Regions from separate parts of the Homo sapiens genome. Here all the other regions are linked to region 2. The links are contacts of gene promoters, found by promoter capture Hi-C in blood cells and fetal thymus (Javierre and others, 2016). All regions are on one chromosome and are shown on one strand. Each heading gives the region's core, a stretch centred on a gene start or on the middle of the fragment in contact. The rest is flanking DNA. Distances are from core to core; before and after follow the strand shown.

Region 1 (2,700 bases), core at 18-2,517, 320 kb after region 2:
GGTCAAGGCAGGCGGACCCCTTGAGTCCAGGAGTTTGAGGCCAGCTTGGGCAACATGGCGAGACATTTTCATCTCTACGAGAAAATTAAAAAAAAAAAAAGCTGCAACATCTCTACAAGAAAATAAAAAAGTTAGCTAGGTGAGGTGATGCGTGCCTCTAGTCCCAGCTACTAGGGAGACTGAGGTGGGAGGATTGCTTGAGCCTGGGAGGTCAAGGCTGCAGTGAGCTGTGATCACACCACTGCACTCCAGTCTGGGCAACGAGTGAGAGCCTGTCAAAAAAAAAGAAAAGAAAAGAAAAGAAAAAGCCTGAATTCTAAGAGAGGAATGAGGGATATAACGAAAAGAGACAAAGACAAAAGGAGAGGTTGCTTGGGTACCACTGCCAATCCCTTGGAGGGACAGGTCCAACCTGTCTCTGTCCCAGCCCCATCTGCATGAAGAGACCCATTGCAGTGTTACCTTCCACGTGCCTGGGGCAGAATGCGAATTGAGAAATCCGAGGCAAATGAGGAACAGTCCATGCCTCCCCCTCCCAGAGCCCCGGGGGTGGGCGACAAGATCTGGGGGTGAGTCAGTGGGGTGGGGACCCCATTTCTGTGCTCATCTGCCTCCTTGGCAATATAAAGAGCAAGCACTGAGGCCCCGCCTCAGAGCACCCCAAACTTGACGCCATGAAGATCCCGGTCCTTCCTGCCGTGGTGCTCCTCTCCCTCCTGGTGCTCCACTCTGCCCAGGGAGCCACCCTGGGTGGTCCTGAGGTGAGCACGTCACCTGCATTTTTATTCTTATACGTGTTACCCACCTACCCCTCCATCTCTCTACCTCCTGTCCATTCCTGGATAAGTGGCTCTTAGTTTTGGATTCTGATGGGGGCTGAAGAAACTGGGGCTCTGAGGAAGGGAGGAGGGAACAGAGCATCCCTGGGGAGACATTTGGGACAGAGATGCTCCTCTTTCTGGAAGGGATGGTGAAGTGTGTTGGGGAGGCTCGTGTACTGAACCTTGGGACTGAGTGGGTGGTCTGGGTTCAGACTATCTCCACCATGGGCTCTCAAGAGTGTTCACCCATTCCGTTCCAGCTGCACACATGCCTGGGGACGTGCAGGGGAAGAGGGGGAACTGGAGAACGGCAATGTGAGGCAGAGCAGCTCCAAACCCAGGCCTGCATCCACATGGGCAGCAGGTGGAGAGGGTGAAGCAAAGCAAAAAACTAGCTAGTTCTGCCTGCAGCTGACTTAACTCAAAGAGGAGTGGGGCTGGGGTGTTCTGGAGACACCCCTGCTTAGCTCCTCTTTGCTTCATTTGTGCCCCTGGGAGTGGTGCCCAGGTGACGGGTGGCTCCCTGCTGTCTCTGGAGCATAGGCCACAGTGAGAATCTTTACCATCCAGTCCTCAGCCAGAGAGGAATCCTGATGCCTATTCCGGATTTAAAAGTCTAAGACAGGGGCACAGGCTCAGCTGCTAAGGACCAAGCCAGTGGTGTCACTGAGCTGGGGGGGCTGTCAGGGCCTGAGGTGAAATGGGGCCAACTTTCCCAGTCTGAAAGGGCAGCTTTCACCCCACCTGACGCCATGGATTGGGAAGATGTGCCTAGAGTTTTACATTTTTCAGGGGAAACTAGAAATCTGGATGAATTTATGAATTCTTACTAATTCAAAATGTCTAATTCAAACCAAAAAACAAATGACCAAATTTTTATGAGATCTAAGCATCTGGATCCAGCCTGCGGGCTCCGTGTTGGGCTCTGTCATGGGGAAGACACGATGGGACACACTGAGGCCTGGGGTGGGGTCCCCATGGAGGGGGATTATGGAACCTCCAACAGTGGTGGCAATAAATCCACAAAGCAAAGCAACCTCGATCAGTGAGAGGCAGGCGGGTCACCTCAGCAGCTGGGCTCCCACCTGCTCGCAAATCTTTCCCATCCAGCTATACGGACTGAGCGTGGGTGTCTCCAGAACACCCCACCTCTTAGACTTAAGTCAACTGCAGGACAGCACTAGCTAGCTTTTCCGGAGAGGAATGCTCGGCTCCAGGCTTTCTGCCTGCTGCCCATGGTGACACTGCTTACATGTACCATTCTCCAATTCCCCCTCCTCACCCTGCACATCCGCCAACCATGTGCGCGACTGGAACGGAGACCATGGTGGGGAATGGGTTGCGTTCTTTCGGGGACTGGGCTGTGGATGAAGGCAGAGCTGGCAGACAGGGATGTGGGCAAGGGCCCTGGCATCACGTGACCCCCTGCCGCCTTTTCTCCCTCTCCTTTTCCAGGAAGAAAGCACCATTGAGAATTATGCGTCACGACCCGAGGTAAGCCGTCTGTTTTCCCCGGCCCTCCAGCCACGAGTCTGTCCTCTCTCTCTTTTTGCTTCTTAGCAACTTTCCTAACACCCTGCGTTTCTGCCTAGGCCTTTAACACCCCGTTCCTGAACATCGACAAATTGCGATCTGTGAGTACGCTTCTCTGGTGCTACCCCCACGAATACCCTCATCACAGAGGGGATAAACGCCTTGGTAGAGAGCTTGCAAAGCTGCCACGGTTCCTTCACCTTCTCCAGAGGGCTGGGGGCTAAGCTCTGGCCTCCCCTGGAGCTGACCTGCTTCTGCTGTCTCTCTTCCTCCTCAGGCGTTTAAGGCTGATGAGTTCCTGAACTGGCACGCCCTCTTTGAGGTGAGTGCTCCGGCGCCCCTTGCC
Region 2 (2,761 bases), core at 23-2,522:
ACTTTCCTTGCTTTTATATTTATTGAAAAGTATAGACCAGCCACAGTGGCTCATGCCTGTAATCCCAGCACTTTGGAAGGCTGAGGCGGGCAGATCACCTGAGGTCGGGAGTTCAAGACCAGTCTGACCAACATGGAGAAACCCTGTCTCTACTAAAAATACAAAATTAGTGGGGCGTGGTGGCACATGCCTGTAATCCCAGCTACTCTGGAAGCTGAGGCAAGAGAATCGCTTGAACCCGGGGGGTGAAGGTTGCAGTGAGCTGAGATTGTGCCATTGCACTCTAGCCTGGGCAACAAGAGTGAAACTGTGTCTCAAAAAAAAAAAAAAAAAAAAAAAAAAAAGAATAATACAGCTTGCCCTGTTTGGTGTCTGGCTTCTTTCACTTGACATTGTGAGATTCAGCCACACAGTTGTGTGTATCAGTATCCATTCTTTTTCATTACTGTATAGTATTCCATTGCATAACTACACCACCATATATGTATCCATTCTCCTTTTGATGGACATTTGGGTAGTTCAGACACTGCTCCTCTGAACATTCTTTCCTGTACATGTTTCCTGCTGTCCATGTTTAAGGTCTCTAGGATATGTACTTAGCATGGAACAGCTGGGTTATATAGGTTATTTGTCTTTTCTTTTTTCTTTTTTTGGCGACAGAGTCTCACTTTGTCACCCAGGGTGGAGTGCAGTGGCACAATCACAGCTCACTGCACCCTTGACCTCCCAGGCTCAAGAGATCCACCTTCCTCGGCCTCCTGAGTAGCTAGGACCACAGGTGTGTGCCACCACACACAGTTAATTTTTGTATTTTTTGTAGAGATGGGGTCTCACTATGTCGCCCAGGGTAGTCTCAAACTCCTCGGTCTTGGCCTCCCAAAGTGTTGGGATTACAAACGTGAGAACCGTATTTTCAAATGTATTCAATAACACTACAGCGTTTCCAATTTTAAGAGGAAGCAATTGCCACAAAAGTGATTAAGTAGCCTGTCCTGGATCACAAAGCCCGGTGTCCTGAGCCCAGGGATCCTTGCTCCGGAGCCCCTGCTTTCCCCAGCACATGGTGGTTACCTAATAAGTGCAGGCTGTTGTGCTGAGCATTCTTGGGGGCTGTTACTGGGGTTCACCTCCCGTTTCCGTTACTCTGAACTCTGTCCCCATTTGTTAATAATTAATTGCCCCCAAGGAGCCTGTGATCCTGAGGCTTTGCCCAGTTAATCAGTCACTGCCCCTGGTCTGGGCAAGGGGCAGTTGGTGAACTTGCTGCCTCCAGAGAACCTTCCCTGGTGTGGAGGCAGCCAGGGACCCAGGATGCTCCGGACCTGTTACGTGCTCTGTTCCCAAGCTGGTCCCCCCTCCAGGGGCTGGCAGTCCCTGAGCTTTGATGGCGGGGCCTTCCACCTTAAGGGCACAGGAGAGCTGACACGGGCCTTGCTGGTTCTCCGGCTGTGTGCCTGGCCCCCACTCGTCACTCACGGGCTGTTGGTGAGCAGTGATCCTGAGGACCAGCCTGGAGGCTCCTCATAGCCTGGCGCTGAGCCCTCGCTCCCTGTCACCCAGCTCCAGGCCTGGTCTCGGCGACTCCTGGGCTCCCGGCTCTCAGGCGCATTTCTCCGAGCATCCGTCTATGGGCAGTTTGTGGCTGGTGAGACAGCAGAGGAGGTGAAGGGCTGCGTGCAGCAGCTGCGGACCCTCAGCCTCCGACCACTGCTGGCAGTGCCCACTGAGGAGGAGCCGGACTCTGCTGCCAAGAGTGGGTGAGTAGGGAGCCAGGGCCCAGGGAGGCTGGGAGGACGCAGGAAGGGGCTTTGCTGTTCGGGCCCTGACACCTGCTGGCTGGGCAGTGAGGCGTGGTATGAGGGGAACCTCGGTGCTATGCTGCGGTGTGTGGACCTGTCACGGGGCCTCCTGGAGCCCCCCAGCCTGGCTGAGGCCAGCCTCATGCAGCTGAAGGTGACGGCGCTGACCAGTACTCGGCTCTGTGTAAGGAGTGCAAAGACGGGGGTGCGGGGAGGGCGCGGCTGCCCATCGGGCTCCCCTCACCACCCCGCCTACCACCCCATTTCAGAAGGAGCTAGCCTCGTGGGTCAGAAGGCCAGGAGCCTCCTTGGAGCTGAGCCCCGAGAGGCTGGCTGAAGCTATGGACTCTGGGCAGGTAAGGATCTCAAGCGGGACTGTCGGGGACAGAGTGCCTTGGACTTAGATGCGGCCACACCGCACGCCAGATGTTCAAAATGCTACGGCCACCTCCAGGCTTGGAACAGCCAGCAGAAGTGCAGCTGTAGCTCCCAGGCATGGTTGAAATGGATGGAATCAGGGTCATCTGGGTTCTCAGGGAGGAGCCTGGAGGCTGGAGGCTCTCAGAGGAGGGATTGGGATAGAAGCTGTTTATCAATTAGAAGGAGGTACATCAGTGTGTTCTCAGTCAACACAGCTGCATGGGTGTGAGCTGGCTGGGTGTAAGTTCTGATTAGGCCAATGGGGTCTTAGTTTGTTCATTCAATCATTAATTCCTTTTTATCTCCACATTCTCTTTCAACCCTACTCCATCTTTTTTTCTTTCTTTCTCTCTCTCTCCTTCCTTCCTCTTCCTCTTTTGCTCTCTCTCCTTCCTTCCTTCTTTTCTTTTTCCTTCTCTCCCCTCCCTCCCTCCCTCCCTTCCTTCCTTCCTTCCTTTATTCCTTCCTTCCTTCCTTCTCTCTCCTCCCTCCTCTCTCTCTCTCTCTCTCTTTCTCTTTGTCTTACTGTATTGCACAGGGTG
Region 3 (2,700 bases), core at 195-2,694, 260 kb after region 2:
CACCCCCAGGAATAAGATCCTGGTGATCGCCATCGTGTTCCAGGTCTGCATCGGCTGCTTCCTGTGCTACTGCCCCGGCATGCCCAACATCTTCAACTTCATGCCCATTCGGTGAGAGGCTGTGAGGGGCAAGGACAGGGAGGGGGCTGTAGGGCACAGGCCTGGGATGGCCTTCACCTTGCCATGTGCCTTCAGGTTCCAGTGGTGGCTGGTCCCCCTGCCCTACGGCATCCTCATCTTCGTCTATGATGAGATCCGGAAGCTTGGAGTTCGCTGTTGCCCAGGGAGTGAGTGTGGAGACTGGGAGCCTGGGGGCAGGGGACTGAAACGTTTGAGCAGCTGCACCCACCTTTGATCCTCAACACTTGGCCTCTAAGCCCTTGACCCTCCATAGCAACCAGCACTGACCTCTGAGCCCCTGGCCCTGCCTAAGTGGCACCCCCAGCACTGAGTCTCCTTTCTCCCTCTCTCTCCCAGGCTGGTGGGACCAGGAACTCTACTATTAGAGGGACGACTGCCTTCAAGCATCCCTGCAACTGCCACAGCAGGTGGGGGCAGGGCTCGTGGGACCCTCTGGACAGCCACCAAGATATCTGAGCAACCAAGAGTCCCAGCCCCACCAGTATCTGCTTCTGTAGCCCACGGCACCCCAAACTTGGAGGGACCTGCCCACTCCCCTCCCCCATTCCCAAGGTTCGCACCTCCTGGAGCAGCAGCGCCTGGGCAGTCCTCTGGGCTGGCCTCGGGAAAGCCGCCACCTGTGGTGGCGGTGGGGCTCTGACAGGGAGTACAGCTGACCGCTTCTGGAGGGTGTTTCTGTTCTTAGGACTCCAGTCCAGGCTGGACGGCTGCCTGAGGGCCCTTCGTTAAAGACACGCTTGTGTCCTGGGCGATGGTAATAAAACCAGCTCATGCTGACTGTGCTGTATCTGGTGCCAGGCACTGTCCTCAGCGTCTCTCATTAGTGCTTGTGATCTCCCACAGTCCTGTACATGGGGGCTGTTTATCCAGGGCTGCACCTCCAGTGCCTAGTACACAGCCTGGCACATAGTAGGTCCTCAATAAACCTGCCTTGGGGAAATGATTCCTATTCCTTTGCCCAGGGTCATGGCATCTAAACGCAAGCTGGGCCGTGGCGATAGGCACCCCCTACCACCTCTGGGCTTTCTCTGTTCTCAGCACCCTTCTCCCTCCTGGAGGCTCCCAGACACAAGGGGGCCCAAGTCATTTCCACATCAAGCATCCCCCACCCCCCAGCGGTGTCTCCTTTCTGAGCCTACCTGCTTACTCCTCTGTCCCGGCAATGGCCAGTTCCTGAACAACTCCTGGAGGTCCCCTCCTCACACCCCTCACCTGAAAGGTTAACCCCATCCCCCTACCTCCCATCTCTGCCGCTCCTTTCCCAGCCCCTCTGTTCACCTCTCTTCCTCTTTCTTATGTGGCTTTCTCTGGCTAGGGCCTGGGCTTCTCCTTCCTTGTGACCACAGCCCCCCAGTCCCCCATGGCTTCAGTTGTTTCTGCAGTGAGACCCACCTCTGTCCCCAGCTTCCCCCAGTGTTGGTGACCTACACTGGCCTCTTCATCACCCCCCATGCCTGTACCCATGCACTGACCCAATCTGATAGTCCCACTGTCCCATCAGTGTGGTCCCTTCTCCCTTGGAAACGTGGTGAGCCCTCGGGCTTACAAGCCCCAAACTCCAGTTATCCTGGAACTCTTTGCTCCTCCCTTACCTGTTAGCGCCCCCTGCCGGTAAATAAATACACACAGCCACTGATCACCAACACCTGGGCTTGGCTTCTAGTCACTCTCCTAACCCCACAAAGCCCTGCCCTGGTCCAGCCCTGGCCTCGTGGCCTCAGCTTTCCCATTTCAGACAACAGCCATGCAGAGCTTCCTAAAGCCAAATCTGACCCTGTCCTTCCTCTGCCTAGAGCTCTCCTTGGTTCCCAAAGCCTCCTGTGATCTGACCCCTGCCAGCTTCTGTAGTCTTACAAGTCCCCTTGAACTCATTCCAACCAGTTATGTTCCCTTGGGAAAAACAGGCCCCCTCTCTGACCTCAAGACCATTACCTCTGCCTTGCCCCAATCACTCATTCTTTAGGTCTCAGCTCACATGTCCTCTGCTCAGGGGAGCCCGCACTGCTTCCACGGCAGGCCAGGCGGCTCCTCTGGGTCCCCATAACCCGGGGTTTTCCCATCATAACCCCGATCACCTGAAGCCTGGCTCCCCACAGTCCAACCGCCCAGGCTTCACCGTCCTCTGCCAACTCAGGCCCAGCCACTCCAGTCTCTCTCCCTGAACCCCATGTAAGCTGGGATTATTCCAGTTGGTAATTTTGCATCCTACACTTGTCTCAATATGTGTGAAGAGCTATGTGGGGCATGGAAGTGTGGGAGAAAGTGACCTTGTCACAAGTCCACCCAGATAGACTGCCCCATCTACTTCCTTTCTACATCAAAGTCAAGGTGATCAATCACTTCCAGCTCCCAAGAGACCCATGGACCCTGTCTTTACTCCAAACAATGAGGAAGAGTGGCCTAGATGGCAGCTGCCGTCTGAAGGCAAATGCTCCCTCTGGAAACATCGAGATGGTCATAGTGAGCTTTCCTAGGCCTAAGCTTAAAAAAAATCAGGTGGAACTTCAACGGCCTGGTGGAGGAGGAGGGGCAATGGTGCTATCCTACTCCCTGGGGTAC

Evidence for each region. The method cuts DNA at HindIII sites, captures the fragments that hold promoters and counts their contacts. A CHiCAGO score of 5 or more calls a contact.
Region 1: a contact is called between a fragment that was not itself captured here and the fragment with the promoter of PRODH2 in region 2, in 1 of 17 cell types (M0 macrophages). The highest score is 5.3, in M0 macrophages.
Region 3: a fragment that was not itself captured here is called in contact with the fragment with the promoter of PRODH2 in region 2 in 1 of 17 cell types (M0 macrophages); the score reaches 5.6 in M0 macrophages.

Annotation. Positions count from the first base shown.
Region 1 is chr19:35,488,417-35,491,116 of GRCh38, reverse strand. It overlaps KRTDAP (keratinocyte differentiation associated protein), which reads left to right and starts at 653. Exons shown (of 6, transcript NM_207392.3): 1 at 653-761; 2 at 2,277-2,315; 3 at 2,414-2,455; 4 at 2,632-2,676. The coding sequence starts at 675. The HindIII fragment of the contact is 3,143 bases long and covers 1-2,700 here.
Region 2 is chr19:35,811,356-35,814,116 of GRCh38, reverse strand. It overlaps PRODH2 (proline dehydrogenase 2), which reads left to right and starts at 1,272. Exons shown (of 10, transcript NM_021232.2): 1 at 1,272-1,485; 2 at 1,561-1,757; 3 at 1,845-1,983; 4 at 2,069-2,155. The coding sequence starts at 1,312. The HindIII fragment of the contact is 7,636 bases long and covers 1-2,761 here.
Region 3 is chr19:35,548,421-35,551,120 of GRCh38, reverse strand. It overlaps ATP4A (ATPase H+/K+ transporting subunit alpha), which reads left to right. Exons shown (of 22, transcript NM_000704.3): 20 at 10-111; 21 at 196-287; 22 at 478-1,090. The coding sequence ends at 506. Among named protein-coding and RNA genes, the nearest start is that of TMEM147-AS1, 3.7 kb to the right of the region's middle. The HindIII fragment of the contact is 2,360 bases long and covers 265-2,624 here.